Regions from separate parts of the Homo sapiens genome. Here all the other regions are linked to region 5. The links are contacts of gene promoters, found by promoter capture Hi-C in blood cells and fetal thymus (Javierre and others, 2016). All regions are on one chromosome and are shown on one strand. Each heading gives the region's core, a stretch centred on a gene start or on the middle of the fragment in contact. The rest is flanking DNA. Distances are from core to core; before and after follow the strand shown. Region 1 overlaps MAST2 (microtubule associated serine/threonine kinase 2). Region 2 overlaps IPP (intracisternal A particle-promoted polypeptide). Region 3 overlaps MAST2 (microtubule associated serine/threonine kinase 2). Region 4 overlaps MAST2 (microtubule associated serine/threonine kinase 2). Region 5 holds the start of LURAP1 (leucine rich adaptor protein 1).

The links. Contacts are between HindIII fragments. The CHiCAGO score rates a contact against its expected background, and 5 or more counts as called.
Region 1: a fragment that was not itself captured here is called in contact with the fragment with the promoter of LURAP1 in region 5 in 1 of 17 cell types (erythroblasts); the score reaches 5.1 in erythroblasts.
Region 2: a fragment that was not itself captured here is called in contact with the fragment with the promoter of LURAP1 in region 5 in 3 of 17 cell types (M1 macrophages, fetal thymus and M0 macrophages); the score reaches 7.3 in M1 macrophages.
Region 3: a fragment that was not itself captured here is called in contact with the fragment with the promoter of LURAP1 in region 5 in 1 of 17 cell types (M0 macrophages); the score reaches 5.6 in M0 macrophages.
Region 4: a fragment that was not itself captured here is called in contact with the fragment with the promoter of LURAP1 in region 5 in 3 of 17 cell types (M0 macrophages, endothelial precursors and erythroblasts); the score reaches 5.6 in M0 macrophages.

Annotation. Positions count from the first base shown.
Region 1 is chr1:45,854,509-45,859,078 of GRCh38, forward strand. The region is part of intron 3 of MAST2 (microtubule associated serine/threonine kinase 2); the gene reads left to right. Among named protein-coding and RNA genes, the nearest start is that of MAST2, 53 kb to the left of the region's middle. The HindIII fragment of the contact is 2,586 bases long and covers 52-2,637 here.
Region 2 is chr1:45,697,668-45,702,251 of GRCh38, forward strand. It overlaps IPP (intracisternal A particle-promoted polypeptide), which reads right to left. Exons shown (of 9, transcript NM_005897.3): 9 at 1,044-2,523. The coding sequence ends at 2,299. Among named protein-coding and RNA genes, the nearest start is that of TMEM69, 12 kb to the left of the region's middle. The HindIII fragment of the contact is 1,381 bases long and covers 1,810-3,190 here.
Region 3 is chr1:45,809,156-45,813,907 of GRCh38, forward strand. All of the region lies in intron 1 of MAST2 (microtubule associated serine/threonine kinase 2), which reads left to right. Among named protein-coding and RNA genes, the nearest start is that of MAST2, 7.9 kb to the left of the region's middle. The HindIII fragment of the contact is 4,684 bases long and covers 656-4,752 here.
Region 4 is chr1:45,885,310-45,889,509 of GRCh38, forward strand. All of the region lies in intron 4 of MAST2 (microtubule associated serine/threonine kinase 2), which reads left to right. The region is part of intron 2 of LOC105378694 (a long non-coding RNA gene); the gene reads right to left. Among named protein-coding and RNA genes, the nearest start is that of MAST2, 84 kb to the left of the region's middle. The HindIII fragment of the contact is 1,906 bases long and covers 1,919-3,824 here.
Region 5 is chr1:46,201,968-46,206,374 of GRCh38, forward strand. It overlaps LURAP1 (leucine rich adaptor protein 1), which reads left to right and starts at 1,367. Exons shown (of 2, transcript NM_001013615.3): 1 at 1,367-1,657. The coding sequence starts at 1,460. It also overlaps a transcript of POMGNT1 not described here. RefSeq lists a silencer at 1,288-1,407. The HindIII fragment of the contact is 3,345 bases long and covers 843-4,187 here.

The DNA of each region.
Region 1 (4,570 bases), core at 95-2,594, 350 kb before region 5:
TTTCAAAATGGTTTTAGTGATTTTTTTTCTTTCTACATAAATTTTAGAATAAGCTTTTTTATATCTACAAAAAGTCTTGCTGGGATTTTGATAGGAATTACATTAAACCTATAAAGAAATATGAGATAAAGGAAAAACTAAACTTTTACCTACTCTCAAACTCACCACAACACAGGACCCTTCTGACACCACATTTATGGGTTTTTTTTCCCTGTACACCAAACAGCAGACAGAAGCTGGGTGCCTTATAATTTAACTCAACTCCTATACTGCATGCCTGGAATAAGCATCAGATCCCATAGGCTAAGGCCCTGTCCCATAAGATTGCCCCTACTTTAGATCCAGTTTCAGTCCTAGCTGGTTTTACCTGTTCTTTTGACTGACCAGCTATAAATTGGATACAGATGAACCACCAGGTGGAGAAGCACATAGGATGAGGCAGGTGGGAAGGAGTGTGGAGCTTCACCCGCTCTGGGCTCACTATCCTCCAGGTACCTGCATGTGGTCAGGATCCTGGAAGCTCTCTGAACCCTGTACTTCACTGATTTTCATGGCAGCTTTATCACATAGGCATGATCCCCTTCCCAGAGGATTGGAGGGTGAGGTGGAAAGTTCCAATTTTCTAATCATGGCTTGGTCTTTCTGGTGCACAGCCTCCATACAGGAGCCCAGTTAACATTCCCTTTGTTAGAACAGAAGGCATGTCTATCACCCAATAAATTCTAATGGATTGGGAGCTCTGTGTCAAGAACTAGGATGAAGACCAAAAAATATATATTTTTATTATAAATCACGATATCACAATAAGTTTTGAGGAGAAATGGCTTTTTTTTTCTATTTGATTCTTCTGACCCATGAAAATAGTGTGTCTCTGCATTTATGTAGATTTTTAATTCTTTTCATCAGCATGTTGTAATTTTTAGCATACATATCTTGTATGTGTTTTGCTGCATTTCTGTCTCTAAGTATTTTATCTTTTTGTATTTTCATGCTGCTTGCCAGGAACAGTCTCAGTCCCTCAGCGCTGGTAATTTATTTCAAGTGGGGTTGAAATTTAAGAGGTCAGATAGAAAAAAGAAATGAGATGAAACTTTTTTTTTTGCAACTTTAAATGATGTTGTATTTTAAATTTTAGTTTTTACATGTTTGTTGCTACTAGTATATAGAAATATGGTTGGTTTTCGTGTGCCGATCTTGTATCCGGTGAGTTTGCTGAACTCATTTAGGAGTTTTTCTTGTAGATTGAGCATTTCTACATAGGCAATCATGTCATTTTCAAATAGGACAGTTTTATTTTTTCCAATCTATATATTCCTTTTCTATCATTTTCTTTCTTTATTGCTCTGGCTAGGATTTAATTAAACACTGAATTTTTATTCTGGTAGTGCTGACTTCAGGAGCCTAATTTGGGACTAGCAAATGCTAGTTTTACTCACCTTATCATTACAGTTTCAGATCTTCGGCTTCTCTTGGGCTTCAGAAGTTTAACTTGGATTGATCTTGAATATTGATCTTGAATATGCTGAAGGCAGGAAAAGCTCTGTCCTGAGTGTATACACAGTGCAATATAATTTTTATTTATTTGCCTCCCTTGAGTGTGAGCTTCTTGAAGAAGACAGTTCTGAAGATACAGGGCTTGGTACACAGCAAACTTGTAATTAATGTTTGAGGTCAGGCATGGGTGGCTCACATCCGTAATCCAATGCTTTGGGAGGCTGAGGTGGGGGGATTGCTTGAGGCCAGGAGTTCAAGACCAGCCTGGGCAACCTAGCAATATCCCGTATCTAAAAATAATAACAGTTACAATTGTTTGTTGAGCAAATATTTAAATGAATAAATGGAACTAATATGTGGCTTCTTCTCATATAAGAAGTCTAGGGAAAACCTTTTCAGACAAGGTATAGTGTAACTCAGGTTGAAATGACAAATGTGAGACTATTTGCAGTCACACACGCAGTTGCACATGTGATTTTGACATCAAACATTTTTGTTTATTTTTGTTTACTTGCATGCCTTGTAAGTTTCATGTTTTACTAACAAGACACTTTATTCTTTGAGTGTTACATGTCGTTTGGTTTGGCTTGCTTCTGTATGTTAAAAAAACGTTCTGTCTTTTGAAAAGATACCATTATCTAATTGGTTTTAAGTTAGGAGAATTCTAAATTACAGGGCACAGTAAAATAAATGAGCAATTATACCGAGGAAGAGCAAAACAAACAAAAAAGAATCATGGAACCATGTTTTGTATATACGTGGGGAGAAGTTATCCTTTAGATCTGTTTTTTTTTTTTATGTGAGTATGCTTGAATGTATATGTCATGAGGGTAGTGGGCTGGGCTGAGCTGGGGAGGAGATGTGCATCATATGTAGGGAGTAGACTTAAGCTAGTTATTTTTAAATAATACTTTAGCAAGGGAATTAGTACTTGTTTAAGTGTTCATATTGCCTTAATATTAGCATAGCTTTTTCATCAATATGTTCAGTATCTCAAACGTCAAATTTGCATGAAAATATTCTCCCAAACCCCTAATCCTTCCCTGTTTTATTTTTCTTCATTGCATTTATTATCTTCTAACATACTGTATATTTTATGTATTCATTTTTTGTTTAATGCCTGTCTACATCCACTTGAATGTAAGCTTTAAGAGGTCAGGGATTTTTATCTATTTCTATTAACAGTTGTATAGCTAGGCCCATGATATCATCTGGTACATAGAGAATACTTAATTTGTAAATCAATGAAAGGAAGACTACTTTGAAAAGAGTGATTTCTAGGATATTGGAATGAGGAATCTTAATCATAAGCCTATGTAAATGATAAAATATTATCCCTATGGAATAGCAGGAAAGTCATTGTCCTTTTACCCTGAGGAGCATATTTGTCCTCTATAAAAAGGCCTTTCTATTTGGAAGGAATTTTACTTGATTGATTGACTCTCTGTTTAAGCAACAAATGAAAAAGAATCCTTTGTTGAGAAGCTACCACAGACTGTAAAGTTTCCAGGTTCTGTACTTTGTGCTGGATGGGGCACCACTGTGATGGGCCTGATGAGTCTCTGAGACTGCTGCAGGACTTGGATTTTGTAACTAAAGTTAGTTCTTATTTTTATACTTTAAGTTCTAGGGTACATGTGCACAATGTGCAGGTTTGTTACATATGTATACATGTGCCATGTTGGTGTGCTGCACCCATTAACTTGTCATTTACATTAGGTATATCTCCTAATGCTATCCCTCTCCCCTCCCCCGACTCCATGACAGGCCCCAGTGTGTGATGTTCCCCTTCCTGTGTCCAAGTGTTCTCATTGTTCATTTCCTACCTATGAGTGAGAACATGCGGTGTTTTTTTTTTTTTTTTTTTTTTTGTCCTTGCGATAGTTTGCTAAGGATGATGGTTTCCAGCTTCATCCATGTCCCTACAAAGGACATGAACATATCCTTTTTTATGGCTGCATAGTATTCCATGGTGTATATGTGCCACGTTTTCTTAATTCAGTCTATCATTGATGGACATTTGGGTTGGTTCCAAGTCTTTGCTATTGTGAATAGTGCCGCAATAAACATACGTGTGTATGTGTCTTTATAGCAGCATGATTTATAATCCTTTGGGTATATACCCAGTAATGGGATTACTGGGTCAAATGGTATTTCTAGTTCTGCATCCTTGAGGAATTGCCACACTGTCTTCCACAATGGTTGAACTAGTTTACAGTCCCACCAACAGTGTAAAAGTGTTCCTATTTCTCCATATCCTCTCCAGCACCTGTTGTTTCCTGACTTTTTAATGATTGCCATTCTAACTGAAATGAGATGGTATCTCATTGTGGTTTTGATTTGCATTTCTCTGATGGCCAGTGATGATGAGCATTTTTTCATGTGTCTGTTGGCTGCATAAATGTCTTCTTTTGAGAAGTGTCTGTTCATATCCTTTGCCCACTTTGTGATGGGGTTGTTTGTTTTTTTCTTGTAAATTTGTTTGAGTTCTTTGTAGATTCTGGATATTAGCCCTTCGTCAGATGAGTAGATTGCAAAAATTTTCCCCCATTCTGTAGGTTGCCTGTTCACTCTGATGGTAGTTTCTTTTGCTGTGCAGAAGCTCTTTAGTTTAATAAGATCCCATTTGTCAATTTTGGGTTTTGTTGCCATTGCTTTTGGTGTTTTAGACATGAAGTCCTTGCCCATGCCTATGTCCTGAATGGTATTGCCTAGGTTTTCTTCTAGGGTTTTTATGGTTTTAGGTCTAACATTTAAGTCTTTAATCCATCTTGAATTAATTTTTGTATAAGGTGTAAGGAAGGGATCCAGTTTCAGCTTTCTACATATGGCTAGCCAGTTTTCCCAGCACCATTTATTAAATAGGGAATCCTTTCCCCATTGTTTTTGTCATGTTTGTCAAAGATCAGATGGTTGTAGATGTGTGGTATTATTTCTGAGGGCTCTGTTCTGTTCCATTGGTCTATATCTCTGTTTTGGTACCAGTACCATGCTGTTTTGGTTACTGTAGCCTTGTAGTATAGTTTGAAGTCAGGTAGCATAATGCCTCCAGCTTTGTTCTTTTGGCTTAGGATTG
Region 2 (4,584 bases), core at 1,250-3,749, 500 kb before region 5:
TGGGAAATCGGCAGAGTGCGGTGGCTCACACCTATAGTCCCAGCACTTTGGGAGGCCAAGGTGGGCAGATCACAAGGTCAGGAGTTCAACACCAGCCTGGCCAACATGGTGAAACTCCGTCTCTACTAAAGATACAAAAAATTAGCCAGGCATGGTGGCTCACGTCTGTAATCCCAGTTACTCGGGAGGCTGAGGCGGGAGAATCGTTTGAACCAGGGAGGCAGAGGTTGCAGTGAGCTGAGATCACACCATTGCACTCCAGCCTGAGTGACAGGGCAAGACTCCATCTAAAAAAAAAAAAAAGAAACGGGAAATCAAATCCTTAAGTCAACTAGTTAAATTTTACTGTATGCAGCCGGGCACGCTGGCCCATGCCTGTAATCCCAGCACTTCAGGAGGCCAAGGCAGGTGGATCACCTGAGGTCAGGAGTTCGAGACCAGCCTGGCCAACATGGTGAAACCCCATACAGAAAAATTAGCTAGGCATGGTGGTGGGCGCCTGTAATCCCAGCTACTTGGGAGGCTGAGGCAGGAGAATCGCTTGAATCCGGGAGGCGGAGGTTGCAGTGAGCCGAGATCACGCCTTTGCACTCCAGCCTGGGCAACAAGAGCAAAATTCCATCTCAAAAAAAAATTTTTTTTACTGTATGCAAGACCTTTAATATATATTGCTCCAACTGGCCAGTAGAAATAACTTAAAAGTAACCGCATCATACACCCAGTAAATCTTTCTCTTAGAAATGAACAGAGAACAATTCTTTAGAATGCTTCTCAGGGAGAAAATGAGAAGTTTTGAGAAGCAGTTTTGTTTGGGTCAAGGGGTACTTTCAAATTACACTTATGAGTCAGTATCTATAAAAAGTTTCAGAAGTACCTACAATTTAGCCCTCTACATCCAAGCAGTAGCTTTGCAGTATGCTCTTACTTAGGTTTGCCCAAGTACAAATAAATTTTACAAAGCTTGATAATCTAATAAAATTCCCTCTTCCTAAAGCCAAACAGATAATTTTGGTGACAACAATCTAGCAAAAAAGGAAGAATTTTTTTTTCTTTTTTTTTTTTTTTTTTTGAGACAGGTTCTCATGCTGTCACCCAGGCCGGTGTGCAGTGGCACAATCTTGGCTCACTGCAGCCTTGACCTCCTGGGCTCAAGTGATCCTGCAACCTCAGCCTCCCAAGCAGATGGGACCACAGGTACAAGCCACAACGCCCGGCTAATTTTTATATATTTTTTGGTAGAGACGGAGTCTCATCACGTTGCCCAGGCTAGTCTCGAACTCCTGAGTTCAAGCCATCTTCCCGTCTCACCTCGGCCTCTCAAAGTGCTGGGATTACAGGTGTGAGCCACCATGCCCAGCCTAAAAAAGGGAGAAATTTCTAGGTGCATACTGCCTGCTGGACTGTATAGCCCATTACAACATCTGGTCACTAAGAACCTCCTATTAATTCCTTACTTGCATTCTCAGGATCAAGACAAAAAATATGAGCAAGCAAAAACTTATCATCAAGCAAAAAGGTATCTATCTATTAAAATAGCTAGATATTTCCCAAACACCCCTCCTAGGATATCTGCTGCCAATAAAAAGTTTGGGGCTAGTGAAAACTCTTGGCATTAAATAAAAGTAGGAATCTATTTCATTGGCTTTCTCTGTGGCTCAAACTATGGCCATGGAAAATTATGCTCTGGATATAATTGTGAATATAGAGGTCTTTAAACTGTGTCATTGACACTATTCCTATATCACATAAAGTTTTATGTTACAATTTATACTGCACTGGAGAAGTAGCTAAAGGGACTATTTGCCAGGAAGCTTCTAGTAAATAATTTCTACAAATTTGTAAAATAGGAGTTGTCTACACTTAAACTGGAGAATTCTACAGCATAAATGGCATTTCTATTATTAGTAAACCTGGCAAATCTGTGTGAGCTCTTTATTAATTGGGATATATTCCATATCCATTCTCACTCATATTTTTAGAAAAATCATTCTTGAGTTTATTTTTTTTCTTTAAGAGACAGGATCTCATTCTGTTGCCCAGAGTGGAGTGCAGTGGCATGATCGTAGCTTACTACAACCTCAAATTCCTGGGCTCAAGTGATCCTTCTGCCTCAGCCTTCCAAAGTGCTGGGATTATAGGCATGAGGCCACTGCGCCCAGCCTCGTTAGTCATTTATCTACCAAATACATGGAAAACTCACAGAATCAGAGGGTCTTATCACCAAATCTATGTTTGCTTTGCAAAAGGTCAGGTCCTGCATTTTCAAAATGTTCCTTGTGCTCTGTTATGCTTTATATTTCATAGCACAGCAACGCCCCCTTCACAACGACTGGTGATCATGTTACCAATTTCTGTCCATGTATCTGAATGAGGGTTATAAACTTCAACTGAGTCCAAGGTACCTGGAGCCAAAAAATCATGGCTGGAAGATCGACCTCCAGAAACATACAGAAGACCATTGACTGCCACAACACACATGCCTGCTCTAGGCACTTTCATTGAGGCAACTTCAACCCACTTTTCCTGGTTAAGAGAGAAAAAAAAAATATGTTAGCAGTGTTATGAAATGATAGTAAAGAAATCCACTGAGAAATTCGATATCCCAGTTCTTTTTACATGTTTAAATGTAAAACTATCTAGTCAGGTAAGCATACAGATTTTTTTTTCTTTTTTTTGCTTTGTTTTTTCCTTGGAGACAGGGTCTCGCTCTGTCACCCAGGCTGGAATGCACAGCAACGATCTCGGCTCAGCGCAGCCTCAACCTCCCAGACTCAAGAGCTCCTCTTGCCTCAGCCTCCTGAGTAGGTAGGACTACAGGTGTACACCACCACACCTAGCTAATTTTTCTATTGTAGAGATGGAATTTCACCATGTTGTCCAGGATGGTCTTAAACTCCTAAACTCAAGTGATTGTCCCACCTCAGCCTCCCACAGTGCTAGGATTACAGGTGTAAGCCACAGCACCCGGCCCAGAATATTTTAAAATAAACTTGAAGTGGGCATGAACAAAGTAAATTTAGAGGAATATAATTTTTTAAAAGGTCTGATTATAAAACATGATCAGGAAATGACCTAGAACTCATACACAGGACAACATTCTAAGAAACAAAGTCTATGGAATACAAGTAGGTAATACACTCAAAAATAAGCAAATAAAAACAAAAGAACCACAAAGCTCCAAGGAGAAAGAAGCTTATAAACCAAAGGATTTTTTAAAAGCCTTTAGTATTTTAATGAGTCTTAAAAATGTCCAAGAGAATGACACAGCATGGAACACCTGACAAATTTATTTGACCATGGAATCCTTTTTACAAGGAGCATCCAGTGGAGTTAGTAATCTGCAGAACATATTTTCAAAAAGGTGGGCTAACCAGGGGTTGGGAACTATAGTCTACTTTGGTATAGCCTGAGAACAAACAATGATTTTCCCATATTAAAAGGTATTTTTTAAAAAAAGACAAAGCATATATCAAAAAAGGATATTGTGTATGGCCCACAGGCCAAAAATATTTACTATCTGGGCTTTTACACAAAAAGTTTGCTAACTCCTGTTATACATCATTCCCTGAAGAAATTTCAATGTGCTGCTATAGCCAAAATGACTAGTAGTGTCTTACTTTTTTTTTTGTTTTTTTTTGAGACGGAGTCTCGCTCTTGTTGCCCAGGCTGGAGTGCAATGGTGTGATCTTGGCTCACTGCAACCTCTGTCTCCCAGGTTCAAGCGATTCTCCTGCCTCAGCCTCCTGAGTAGCTGGGATTACAGGAACCCGCCACCACGCCTGGCTAATTTTTAGTATTTTTGGTAGAGACAGTTTCACCGTGTTGGCCAGGCTGGTCTCAAACTCCTGACCTCAAGTGATCCACCCGCCTTGGCCTCCCAAAGTGCTGGGATTACAGGCGTGAGCCACCGCACCCAGCGACTAGTAGTGTCTTACTTGAGGGAAAACGTCCATACTCAGAAAACAAGAAAGCTACTAAAGGTCCTAAGAAGTAATTAGGAGAGCAAAGAGCAAGTGGCCAGGTAATGGGAGAACAGATTATCAATCTTTAAATAAAGCATATGATGAACAAAGTTTTTTTAATCATAAATAGTGAAGACTGATTATTCATCAATGCTAGAAAGTAAATTTTTGAGGACAGGGACTTGAGCTTCTCATCCCAGTACCCACATAGGTACTAGGATAGTGCCATCATATTATAAACAGTTAGTGTATGTTTGCTGATGTGAACTTAAATAAGATTATGAAATACTAAACCAGGGACAATTCTTTGAAAGTGAAGGACTAGATTAAATTTGAAAGCTATTTGATCATCTGAAATTACACAGCACATCACAAAACTGACACAACTGAAAAATACTTACATTTTAAAATATAAATACATTCTCAAGAAGATCCATTTCTGGTTAAGATAAATTAGGATAATTTAGGTTATGTTTGTAATTAGGGAGAACCTTTGCTCTCCCACAAAATGCCCCTTGACAATAACAAAGGGACCTTAGGGCTCATCCTATATTGTTCTTCTTTCATTTCTACCAGTGTATTAGAACTACAGTTTAATTTTTAAATTTTTATTACTTTATTT
Region 3 (4,752 bases), core at 1,748-4,247, 390 kb before region 5:
GGCTGTCTTAATCATCATGGTATCTTCAGCCTCTAGTATTTTAACTGGTATGTAATAGACATTCAGTAAGTAATTGTTTATTGTTAGGCACTTTGATATACTTTAATTAGTCATCAGTTTGAGAAGCTCTTTATTCTCTGCTTCCGCATATTAAAATTCTACTCAGTTTTCCAGGCCTAACTCAAATGCCACAGAAACTTCTGTGAGGCCAGGTGTGGTGGCTCATACTTGTAATCCCAGCACTTTGGGAGGTTGAGCAGGCGGGTTGCTTGAGCTCAGGAGTTTGAGACCAGACTGAGCAACATGGTGAAACCCCATCTCTACAAAAAATACAAAAATTAGTCGGGGTTGGTGGTGCGCGCCTGTGGGCCCAGCTACTTGGGAGGCTGAGGTGGGACCCCTGGAAGTTGAGGCTGCAGTGAGCCAAGGTTGTACCACTGCACTCCAGTCTGGGTGACAGAATGAGACCGTGTCTCGTAAAGAAAGCAAAAAACAAACAAACAAAAAACAAAAACAAAACCACACACCCAAAAAGAAACTCTTCTGCAAAGTTGTTTTTCCACATGGGATCCTAGGAGGATCCTTAATTGGGCTTCAGGAAATCTGTGAATGTCCTGAAATTCCAGTTCTCAAAATTCTGTGGTTTAAAAGTGAAAGCTTAGGTTCCAAGAGATCAAATGCAAAAATGACTGGAAAGCACATAATAAGTAGGTGCTTAATAAGTAGTCTTATCTCATTTTGTTTCTGTAACATATTGTTTGATCCATTCCTGGTCATATAAAGTAGATGCTGAATAAATATTTGCTGAATGAAAGGATGAATCAGTGTTTTAGCACTTTCAACTTTCTGTGTTCATTTGTATTTCATTTTTGCTTTTAAGTTGCATGTTATTGAAGGTAAGAACTATGTCATCATTTTGTCTAACAATGCAGAGCTAAAGGCTTTGCTCACAATAGGTGCTCAGTCATTATTTATTGAATGAATGAATGGAGAATGATTCAAATATTTTGAATTTTGGTAATTTGAGTAATAATGGTTATATGATAGGAGTAGACAAAGGAAATAGAATATTTTTGAGGATGGCAGAAGATGAGTTCAACTTTAGTTCCTAAAATACCCTCAGTGTGACAGAAATTTTAAAAAATTATTTTAATGGAAATCAGAACCTCTTTCCTCTGCATTACAGGGTTAGTACATTGGGAAAAGCATAGGGCAGAAAGCACACAGAAGGGAAGCTGCGTAATATATATAGGGAACTATAATCGGTTTGTTATTGCCAGACCCAGAGCTTTACGTTGAAGGTGTAAATGCTAGGTTAGAGATTAAAGAAGCCTTGATTGTTGAGGGTCTTTAGTGTGATATAAAAGGATAATTGGCTGGGTGTGGTGGCTCACGCCTGTAATCCCAGCACTTTGGGAGACCAAGGTGGGTGGATCACCTAAGGTTAGGAGTTTGAGACCAGCCTGGCCAACATGATGAAACCCCATCTCTACTAAAAATACAAAAATAGCCAGGCGTCTTGGTGGGCGCCTGTAATCCCAGCTACTTGGGAGGCTGAGGCAGGAGAATTGCTTGAACCCGGGAGGTGGAGGTTGCGGTGAGCCAAGATCGCGCCACGGTACTCCATCCTGGGCGACAGAGCGAGACTCCATCTCAAAAAAAAAAAAAAAAAAAGGATAATAAGTAGGGGAGCAGTATATTCTTTTTTTTTTTTTTTGAGGCAGTCTTGCTCTGTGGCCCAGGCTGGAGTGCAGTGGCACGATCTCAGCTCACCGCAACTTCCACCTCCCAGGTTCAAGCTATTCTCCTGCCTCAGCCTCCCAAGTAGCTGGGATTACAGGCATTGGCCACCATGCCTGGCTAATTTTGTATTTTAGTAGAGACGGAGTTTTTCCATGTTGGTCAGGCTGGTCTCAAACTCCCGACCTCAAGTGATCCACCTGGCTCGGCCTCTCAAAGTGTTGGGATTACAGGCGTGGGCCACCGTGCCTAGCCGAGAGCAGTATATTTCTTTTTTTTTTTTTTTTTGAGACGAAGTCTCGCTCTTGTCTCCCAGGCTGGAGTGCGATGGCACGATCTCGGCTCACTGCAGCCTCCCCCTGTGGGGTTCAAGCAATTCTCCTGCCTCAGCCTCTCGAGTACCTGGGATGCCACCACGCCCAGCTAATTTTTGTATTTTTGTATTTTTTTTTTTTTTTTTTGAGACGGAGTCACGCTCTGTCGCCCAGACTCGAGTGCAGTGGCGCGATCTCGGCTCACTGCAAGCTCCGCCTCCCGGGTTCGCGCCATTCTCTTGCCTCAGCCTCTGGAGTAGCTGGGACTACAGGCGCCCACCACCACGCTCGGCTAATTTTTTTGTATTTTTAGTAGAGACGGGGTTTCACTATGTTAGTCAGGATGGTCTCGATCTCCTGACCTCGTGATCTGCCCTCCTTGGCCTCCCAAAGTGCTGGGATTATAGGCGTGAGCCACCGCACCCGGCTTTTTTTTTTTTTTGACACAGAGTCTCACTTTGTCACCCAGGCTGGAGTGCAGTGGCCTGATCTTGGCTCACTGCAAGCTCTGCCTCCCGGGTTCCCGCCGTTCTCCTGCCTCAGCCTCCCGAATAGCTGGGACTACAGGCGCCCGCCACCACGCCCAGCTAATTTTTTTGTATTTTTAGTAGAGACGGGGTTTCACTGTGTTAGCCAGGATGGTCTTGATCTCCTGACCTCGTGATCCGCCTGTCTCGGCCTCCCAAAGTGCTAGGATTACAGGCGTGAGCCACTGCGCCTGGCCTAATTTTTGTATTTTTAGTAAAGATGGGGTTTCACCATGTTGGCCAGGCTGGTCTGGACCTCCTGACCTCAGGTGATCTGCCCGCCTTGGCCTCCCAAAATGCTGGAATTACAGGTGTGAGCCACCGCGCGCGGCACAGGAGCAGTATATTCTTATTTGTGTTTTAGTTGGATTACTCTGGCAACTGTGTGGAGGATAGGATGCAGGACATGCTGTTTGAGACATGAGCATTTGAGAAATCTTCCGAGTTTTCAGTGCAAAAGTTTATTTGACCTCCTTTCCCTCTTATCCAGGGTATGGGTAAGGGCTAGCTCCTAAAAAGGTGTTAACTTTGAAATATTTAGTTTCATCAAAAGTACTGGGAGCAGAGAGTCTATGGTGGCTTGAAGCAGGTTGGCAAATGTTCCCTGATGAGGGTAGGACACATGTGATTACAGAGTTTTCCCATCATTGTTCTGGATGTCTCTTGGCCTAAAGATCAATCTGTAAGCCTTTTTTTTTTTTTTTTTTTTTAGACGGAGTCTCGCACTGTTGCCCGGGCTGGAGTACAGTGGTACCATCTTGGCTCACTGCAACCTCCGCCTCCCAGGTTCAAGTGATTCTCCTGCCTCAGCCTCCCAGTAGCTGGGATTACAGGCATGTGCCACCACGCCTGGGTAATTTTGTATTTTTAGTAGAGACTAGGTTTCTCCATGTTGGTCAGGCTGTCTCAAACTCTCGACCTCAGGTGATCCGTCCACCTCGGCCTCCCAAAGTGCTGGGATTACAAGCATCGGCCACTGTGCCTGGCCCTACTCCTATTTTTAATAGTCCGTGTAACATTTTCATTTGGATAGCTCAGAGACCTCTCAAACTTAACATGTCCAAAAATGAAGTCTTGATTTTCACTTTCTAGTCTGCTTCTTCCCCAGTCTGCCTCATGTCAATAGATGGCACTACTCATTTACCAGAACAAAACTGGAGGTTGTGTTTGATTTTTTTCTTAACCTTACCTGTATTCCACATTCAGCCCCTCAGGTCTGTTTGCTGCTACAGTTGTCCCTCAATATCTCTCGGGGATTGAGTACATGACCCCCTGCAGATACCAAACTCTGGTATGCTCAAGTTCTATCTATAAAATGGCATAGTATTTGCATGTAACCTATGTATATCCTCCCATGTACTTTAAATCATCTCCAGATTATTTATAATATATAATACAATGTAAATGCTATGTAAATAACTGTTACACTCTATTACTTAGGGAATAGTGACAAGAAAAAAATATCTATACATGTTCAGTATAGATGGAACTATTCATTTTCTTTTTCTCTGCATACAGTCATGTTCCGCATAATTATGTTTTAGTCAATGATGGATGACATACAAGATGGGGGTCCCATAAGATTATTATTATTATTATCATTTTTTTTTTGAGACCGAGTCTTGCTCTGTTGCTCAGGCTGGAGTGCAGTGGTGCGATCTCAGCTCACTGGAACCTCTGCCTCCTGGGTTCAAGCAATTCTCCTGCCTCAGCCTCCCAAGTAACTAGGATTACAGGCAGCCGCCACCACGCCTGGCCAATTTTTTTTTTTTTTTTTTTGAGACGAAGTTTTGCTCTTGTCCCCCAGTCTGGAGTGCAGTGGCACGATCTTGGCTCACTGCAACCTCTGCCTTCCGGATTCAAACAATTCTTCTGCCTCAGCCTCCCGAGTAGCTGGGATTACAGGCTTCTGCCACCACACCTGGCTAATTTTTATATTTTTAGTAGAGACAGTGTTTCACCATGTTGGCCAGGCTGGTCTCGAACTTCTGACGTCAGGTGAGCCGCCCACCTCGGCCTCCCAAAGTACTGGGATTATAGGCATGAACCACTGCGCCTGGCCAGATTATAATTTTTTTATTAAAATTTTTTTTTAAATAGAGATGAAGTCTTGCTATGTTGCCCAGGCTGGTCTTGAGCTCTTGGCCTCAAGCAATCCTTCTGCCTTGGCC
Region 4 (4,200 bases), core at 1,622-4,121, 320 kb before region 5:
CCTTCATGGACATAGAGAAATTTAGAATTTGCCTCTAGTTTGGTGTTCTTGTCCTTTGAGAGAGCGTTTTTGTTAATTAATTTTTGAGGCTTTCAATTGCTGTGCTTTTCACGTAATATGTTAGTTGCATTAAAATGGACAGGAACTCAAATATGAGTTTCTAGACTTATGTGACAACTTGGCATTATACAAAATACACATTCTTCCACTCAACAAGTAATTCCTCCAAAGTCTCCAAATTGGTAAGTGGAAGTATAGCATAAAAATTAACAGCTTGGGTTTGCAAGTCAGGCAGATGTGGGTTTCAGTCACGGCACTATTACTTACTAGATGTTTTTTGGTAAAATCAGTTACTATATTTTTGTCTTTTTGCCTCCATTCACTTTGTCATTTGCTCAAATCTTTCCATCCATGCATCCATCATACTATATTATTTTAGTTCCAGTTAGGTGTAGGCACTATTCTAGATACTGGAGATACAGTAGTGAATAAAGCAGACAAGGTCCCTGTGCTCATGGAGTTTCCATTCTACTTAAGAGAGACAAAAACATGTATGATATGCCATATGGTACTTACTGCTATGAAGAAAAATAAAGCCAGATATCAGAGAGGAGGATGTGTGTTTCTGTGGGGGTGAGGGTTTAAATTTTAAATTTTAAATTGAATTGTCTAGGCTGGGTGTGGTGGTTCACACCTGTAATCCGAGCACTTTGAGAGACTAAGGCAGGAGGATCGCTTGAGTTCAGGAGTTTGAGAACAGCCTGGGCAACATAGTGAGACCCTGTCTCTACAGAAAAATTTTAAAAATCAAAAAATTTTGTATTGTCCAGGAATTTTCTCATTAAGGCAACATTTGAGCAGAGAACAGGAGTCTGGAATGAGTGATACTGAGATAGAGATAGATCGATAAATATATATGTATATATTATATATATTTATATACTTATATAAGTATACATATATATTTATATATTGTATACATATTTATATATGTATCTATAAGTACACACACACACACACACACACACACACACACACATTTATAGTGACATTGGTCAGATTAGGGAAGAGAGCTGTTACATTCTAATACGCAAAATGCAAACATCATCTATGCCTGCCACGATAAGGGCTTTATTGGGGCAAGGTGGTTATGAAAGTTCTTTTGGCCTGGCTCATACCATTTATTTTAGATGTAGCTTCCTGAAACTAAATCATTTTCATTTTTAGAAAGCTATTTCATATTTAAACCCATCTGGGTATTTTTTTAATGCATTAAAAATGTAGTTTAGAATATCAGACCTAAGGGAGTTGATAACTTTGTTCAAAGTACAATATCTGTGAAAAGAAGATTTTGAAGTTCTAAAGTTACTTGTATCTGTTTACCCAGGCTAGAAGGGTTTTATATTTTACTTTTTCATAATTGAAGCAGCTCTGAATGGCTTTTCTTGCCCAATGCTATAGTGGGGGCCTCTTTTTGATGATTCCTTTCAAATAGGATTGTTTCTTTTGCTGTTGTTGTTATTTTGTTTGTTTTTGTGACAGGGTCTCATTCTTTAGCCTAGGCTGGAGTGCAGTGGCGCAGTCTCAGCTCACTGCAGCCTGGTCCTCCCTGGCCTCAGGAGATCTTCCCATCACAGCCTCCTGAGTAGCTGGCACCACAGGCACCTGCCACCACATCTGGCTAATTTTTGTATTTTTTGTAGAGATGGGGTTTCACTATGTTACTCAGGCTGGTCTGGAACTCCTGAGCTCAAGCTATCTGCCTACCTTGGCTTCCCAAAGTGCTTAGATTACAGGCATGAACCACAATGCCTGGCGACTGTTTATTTTGTTTGTGAATTTCAGCACCAGTACCTAGACCCTGCATTTGGGAGCTTAATGTAAATAATGCTTATGTCTCCAGTTACCCTGAAAGTAAAGCTTTTCTAATACCCATTAGGCTTAAGATAATTTTCCTCATATTTCATGAAATGTCTTGCTTTATTTCTTAGAGGCTATGAGCAGTCAATTGAGATAACAGACTGTAGGAGTGGAGAGGTAGCTGTTGGTTGCATTCATCATGGGGTATGTGTATATGTGTGTGTTGATATTATTGGCATTGCTGGCTTGTAGTCTTTAGAGCCCTTGGGGATAGTTAACCTTTTATTTTGTCAGCTTATTCATTTGGGCAGTGGACTTAGATACCAGATATTGGATGAAAGTTAATGTCTGGTGTCTGCAGTGATAGGCACTGCATAGTGGGCAGGGAGGAGTTCCTGGGCCCCAGGGATGTGATGTGTCAAACTTTGTTCCTATGAAACTGACAGTGTCATGTACTTTCCCATTCTGATGCAACTTGATGCCTGGATCAATGCTTCTGGAAAATGTGCTAAAAAGAGATACCACCTGCTGCATACACATAATAAACCCTTTGTTGAGGTATCAGTGGCGTCTGATATAGGGCTTTAGGTTTTCTGTGGGGCTTTGAAAATCAGGAAATTTTGCAATCTTTCAAGACTCTAAAGCCCAGAGTGATAGCTTTGTGTTACATTTAAGACCCTGTCTTTTAAAAGTTGGTGGGAAGTAATTTCATATAGATTCTCTAAGTGTCCAATGGGAAGGCAGGACGTAGCAGAGGTTGGGAGGGAAGTAGCCATAGTCATCACTCATATCCCTACAGGGAACCAGTTTGTTGTTAAAAAATGGATGTAGTTGTTGGCGAGCTTTACCTGTGTAGGTGGGATCTGAAAATCCTTGAGAACCTGTTTTTGTTACTGTATGTTGAGAATAGTTGTCATGCTCATTATCCCCACATTTATATCGCTAGATCTCATAACTGTCCATTCACCATAATGTGACTGAATATTTCAGAGACATCTGAACTGCAGCATTTATGAATCTGAGTCATTGTCTTTCTCAAAAATCAGGTCCTCTCTTATACTCTAGCTTATTAAATGGTACTGCTTCCTCAAGATAGAAAATTTAGTTATTTTTGTTGCCATGCTCTTCCTTACACTCACAAGTCTTTTCTGTTATACCTCTCAAATATCTCTTGGTGTTCTGTCTTTATTTTTATTTTATTTTATTTTTTTGAGACTGAGTCTCGCTCTGTGGTCCAAGCTGGAGTACAGTGGCGCCATCTGGGCTCACTGCAAGCTCCGCCTCCCGGGTTCACACCATTCTCCCACCTCAGCCTCCTGAGTAGCTGGGACTACAGGCCCCCACCACCACGCCCGGCTAATTTTTTGTGTTTTTAGTAGAGACCGGGTATCACTCTGTTAGCCAGTATGGTCTCGATCTGCTGAACTTGTGATCCACCCACCTCGGCCTCCCAAAGTGCTGGGATTACAGGCGTGAGCCACCGCGCGCGGCCTCTTTTTTTTTTTTTTTTTTTTTTTTTTTTTTTTTTTTGAGATGGAGTCTTGCTCTCTCGCCCAGGCTGGAGTGCAATGGCACAATCTCGCCTCACTGCAACCTCCGCCTCCCAGGTTCAAGTGATTCTTCCGCCTCAGCCTCCCCAGTAGCTGGTACTACAGATGTGTGCACCACGCCTGGCTAATTTTTTGTATTTTTAGTAGAGACGGGGTTTCACCACGTTAGCCAGGATGGTCTCAATCTGACCTCATCATCCATCCGCCTCGGCCTCCCAAGTGCTGGGATTACAGGCCTGAGCCACTGTGCCCGGCTGGTGTTCTCTCTTTCTTTATACTACCACTGGTTTGTCCAGATAGTCACAGCCATTGTAATCTCTTGCCTCTGCTACTGCCATAACCTCCTAACTGGCCTTTCTTTATCTGGCATTGCTCACCCTCAGTCTACCTAACTATCATACAATAGCCAGGAAAAGCTTTTTAAAATGCGGATTTCATTATTAGATATTAATTTAAACTTTTTTGGTGAAATTTTTTTTTTTTTGAAACAGAATCTCACTTTGTCACCCAGGTTGGAGTACAGTGGTGCGATCACGGCTCAGTGCAGCCCCAGCCTTCCTGGGCTCAGGTGGTACTCGCACCTCAGTCTCCCAAGTAGCTGGGACCACAGGTGCACGCCGCCACACCCAGCTAATTTTTGTACTTCTTGTAGAGGTGGGGTTTTGCCATGTTGCCCTGGCTGGTCTCAAACTCCTGGGCTAAAACTACCTGCCTTCCTCGGCCTTCCGAGGTGCTGAGATTACAGGTGTGAGCCTCTGCACCTGGCCTTTGGTGAATTTTTTCTTACTCT
Region 5 (4,407 bases), core at 117-2,616:
AAAAGAAAAAATAGTGGTAGGATTTACAATAAGAGGATAGTTACTCCTACCCTACCCTTTCACACCTCTAGGCCCACTCCCAATTGGCAACCACTTTTAGTTAACTCTAAACAATAACGTTATGGGTATGAACACCAAAAGAAAAAAAAAAACTAAAAGTTATTTTTTGCCAATTGGGAGTGGGCCTAGAGGTGTGAAAGGGTAGGGTAGGGGTAACTATCTTCTCATTGTAAATCCTTCTGCAACCATGGGCTGGAATTACTTGAATTAAAAGCCTAAACAAACCAGAGTTTTCATGGCTGTTCATTACCTGTTAAATAAAACCCAAACATCTCAGAACCATTTTCTGTAACCTTGTTACTCAAAGTGTGGTCCCTTATTACTTGAAGTGTGGACCAGCAGCATGGCCATCACCTGGGAGCTTATTAGAAATGCAGGATCTTGGCTGGGCGCAGTGGCTCACACCTGTAATCCCAGCACTTTGGGAGGCCAAGGCAGGCGGATCACTTGAAGTCAGGAGTTCAAGACCAGCCTGGCCAACATGGTGAAACCCTGTCTCTACTAAAAATACAAAAATATTAGCTGGGCATGGTGGCGCATGCCTGTAATCCCAGCTACTCAGGAGGCAGAGGCAGGAGAATTGCTTGAACCCAGGGAGGCAGAGGTTTGTAGTGAGCCAAGATCGCGCCACCACGCTACATCCTGGGCGACAGAGCGAGACTCTGTCTCAAAAAAAAAAAAAAAAAAAAAAAAAAAATGCAGGATCTCAAGCCCCACCCCAGATTTACAAAATCAGAACCTACATTTTAACAAGATCCGCAGATAATTCATACGCACAGTCAAGCTTAAGGAGCATCTTGCTTGTAAGCCCAACGTGGACCTCTTCAGCTTCAGTACTGGTTGCCCTTTTCTACTCCGTTAGCCTGAATTCTAGCCCCTGGGGGGGGGGGGTGGTGTGTGTGTGTGTGTGTGTGTGTGTGTGTGTGTGTGTCTAGCTAAAATCCAGTCATCGTTTTATACCCAATTCCTCTGCTCCAGGAAGACTTCCAAGCCCTCTGCAGCTCTCTGTTACCGCTGTTCCTTAAACTCCCACATCTCTGACTGAAGCTGCTTAGACTTCATTCTGCAAACATGTATTGGGCGCCTGCTGTGTGCCTGGCTGGATTCAGTGCCAGGGTGGGGCGAAGGCGCTGAGGTCTCCGAGTGCTCTTTCAGGTCCAACTCCAGAATCGCCCAGCCCCACGCAATCCAGGGCCAGAGGTTGTGTGCGCAGCACTCGAATACATCCACAGACGGTGCTGCGCGGCTTTTCTGAGTGTTACGGCGCCCTCCTCCCGCCCCCGCGCCGCGCGGGCGGGGACCCACCGGTTTTGCTCCGCTTTAGCAGCGGCGAAGGGAGGACCCCCGGGAGCCGGTCCCCGGCGTCCGGTCGCCCAGCCCTTTTCAGGCTTGGGCCCGCATGGAGGGGACCGTGGAGTCCCAGACGCCTGACCTGCGGGATGTGGAGGGTAAGGTGGGCAGGAAGACCCCTGAAGGGCTGCTCCGCGGGCTGCGAGGCGAGTGTGAGCTGGGAACCTCTGGCGCCCTGCTGCTCCCAGGGGCGTCTAGCACCGGCCACGACTTGGGGGACAAGATCATGGCGCTGAAGATGGAGCTGGTGAGTGCTGAATCCATGGGCCAAGGGGACGAGTCCCTAGTGTAGGGCCGGGAGGGACGAACTCATGCTCCCAGAGTTAAGCTGGAGAGGAGGTAGTTAAAACTCTCCACCTAACTGCTCAGAATCCCTCCCAGATCAATCCGTAAACGCTGGGGTGGAGATGGAGTGACGTCCATTACTTGTCCCCCAAGAGTGAGTGGGGTGTTGATGGTCCTGAGGACTTGGGTTGGGAGCAGTGGGTTTTGGAAGTTATTCCTGCCAAATAATTGGGAGGAGAGAGATGAGGACTGGGAAGTACTGAGAACCCAACGCAGCACAAATTCCCCCCGCCTGTATGGGCCACCTATTCCCCGCCAGTCCCCGTTGTAAGGCAACCGGTTTTTTCTCCTTCTGCTAACCGGGAAAGGGTTTAAGTTCCTGTGAGGCCGCAGTGTTCCGCACAGAAAAGAAGTGGGTAAAGGGGCCTATCTGCTGAAAACTACCTGGACCAGGGGCACTGAAAACCTTCTCCGTTTCCTCTACATCCCCCAGCCCTACTTAAAATAATGGAAAGTTCCTAGACCCATAGCAGGGACAGAGAGTAGCAGCACCACTGGTGCTGATTCCCTCGCCTCAGACTCAGTCTCCTCCCAGCCAGTCTTCCAGGTAAACTGGATATTTGGATCTCATCTGTACATTCTTGGGGAGAAGAGGAAACAGCAACCCTCCCCTTTCTCTATTGCTGCTGGTCTAGATTCAGAGCCAAAAGGGCAGCCGAGGCCCTGGCAGGTTCCCCAGGGCCCTGATTCCGGTGAAGTGGGTGATTTACACCTGCCACTACTTTGCAGCCAGTTCTGGGGAACTGAGGAATTGCCATCGGCTTCCTGGCTCACAACCAGGAGCCCACAGTGAGTACGTCAGCTAAAGTCTTCCTGTGTGCCCAGCCTGTGCCAAGCTGGTCTGTGAAGGAGAAGGGGAAGGAAATCATGGGGGCTCTGAGACCAGCCAGGGCTCCGACGCCTGAGCTGAGAGGCTGGGAAGAGAGTCTGGTGGGTGGAGCAGTCAGGAAAGGCCCCCTGGGAGAAGGACTTGAATGCCAAGTGTGCACTTGGCCTTGAAGGTTGGAGGTGAGTGCCCAATTCTCCAGAGCAAGGCTGTGACTGTACCCACCTAAGCGGGGGCTTGCCTTTGCCTCACTGTACAAACTTTAGCTCAAGGCCTAGTAAGAGCCTATCTAGACTGTCTACTTGCTTTGAAAACTTTCACCCAGTGCATGTGCCAGGCAGCTTGCTGAGCACTTTACATGATGCTCTCTTCATCTCCACAGTAACCCTGTTAAGTGATATTTTATAGATGGAGAAACTGAGGCACAGGGTGGGCATGGTGGCTCACGCCTGTAATCCCAGCACTTTGGGAGGCCGAGGCAGGCAGATCGCTTGAGCCCAGGAGTTTGAGACCAGCCTGGGCAACAAAGCAAGACCCTGTCTCTACAAAAAATACAAAAATTAGATGGGTGTTGTGGTGTGTGCCTGTAGTCCTAGCTACTCTGGAGGCAGAGGCAGGAGGATCACTTGAGCCCAGGAAGAGGAGGTTGCAGTGAGCTGAAATCGCACCACTGCACTCCAGCCTGGGTGACAGAGCTCAGAGCTAGACCCTGTCTCAAAAAAAGAAGGGGAAGAAGGGGAGGAAGGGAGGAAGGGAGGGAGGGAGGAGAAAAGAAAAGAAAACAGAGGCACAGGGAGTTTAATAACTGCCCAACATCACGCAAAAAGCAGGGCCATGATTTGAACCCAGATCATCTGACTGCACTTTGCATCTTTACTTTGAGACCTGCTTTGTGCCAGATAGTCTGAACATTTTATGTCATTGAAATGAGAAAACTGGTCATCATTTCTCCCATCTTACAGATAAAACGTGCTTGCAGATTCTGAACTCACATAGGGAGTCAGTGGAAGAGCCACGCCCAGTCTCTGGCTCTCTTCTCTGCCTTGGTGGAAACTATCTGTAAACTTTAAGGGGCTGCATTTAACTTTTGATTTTGTCTCTCTGTATTCTTGACCCAGCTTGCCTGGGGCCTGAGGCTGCCCGAGAAAGGGCACAAGGGAGGGAGCCTTCTGGGGCCAGAATGAGGAGAGATCCCCATCCTATTTTTTCTCCTTCCTCAGGCCAGGATGTTATTAATATTAATCTCTTCTTGTGCTCTGCCCTGCCTACTGGGTTGCACCCAGGAAGGACAAGGGGTGGGGCAAGGGATTTGCCTTCGGGCTACTGAAGGCAGGACTGGTTCAAGCCCTCTAAGGACTGTCCTTCAATTGTTCCTCTCCCAGCTCTCCTTGCACAAAGGGGGAAGGCCTACCCTTGAGGCCAAGGTCAGTCCTGCCTCTAGGCCTCGTCCCTCCTGCTTTCTTCCTCTACCCTCCATTCAAAGGTTGAGTGAACAAGCCAGACTGGGATATGTGGGAATGGGAAACAGTGGCAACTTCTTCTTAGTTCTCCCACCCAAAGAACTGTTGCTATGACAACCCACCTCCACAGAGGCAGTTTGAGAAAAAGCTTTAGGCAAGGAAGAATGCACGGGTTCAAGTCTTGGCTCTGCTTCTGAAACGTTTTGTGGTCTTGAGCAGCACTCTGTCTCTCTCCTGGCCTCAGTTTTTCCTCCTTTTGGTGGAGGGGGTAGAGGGAGATGGGGACTGTGAAACCAGATGATTGTTAAGAACCTTTATAGTAACAATATTCTGATAGTCCCCGCTCTGGGAGCTCGGACTGGGATT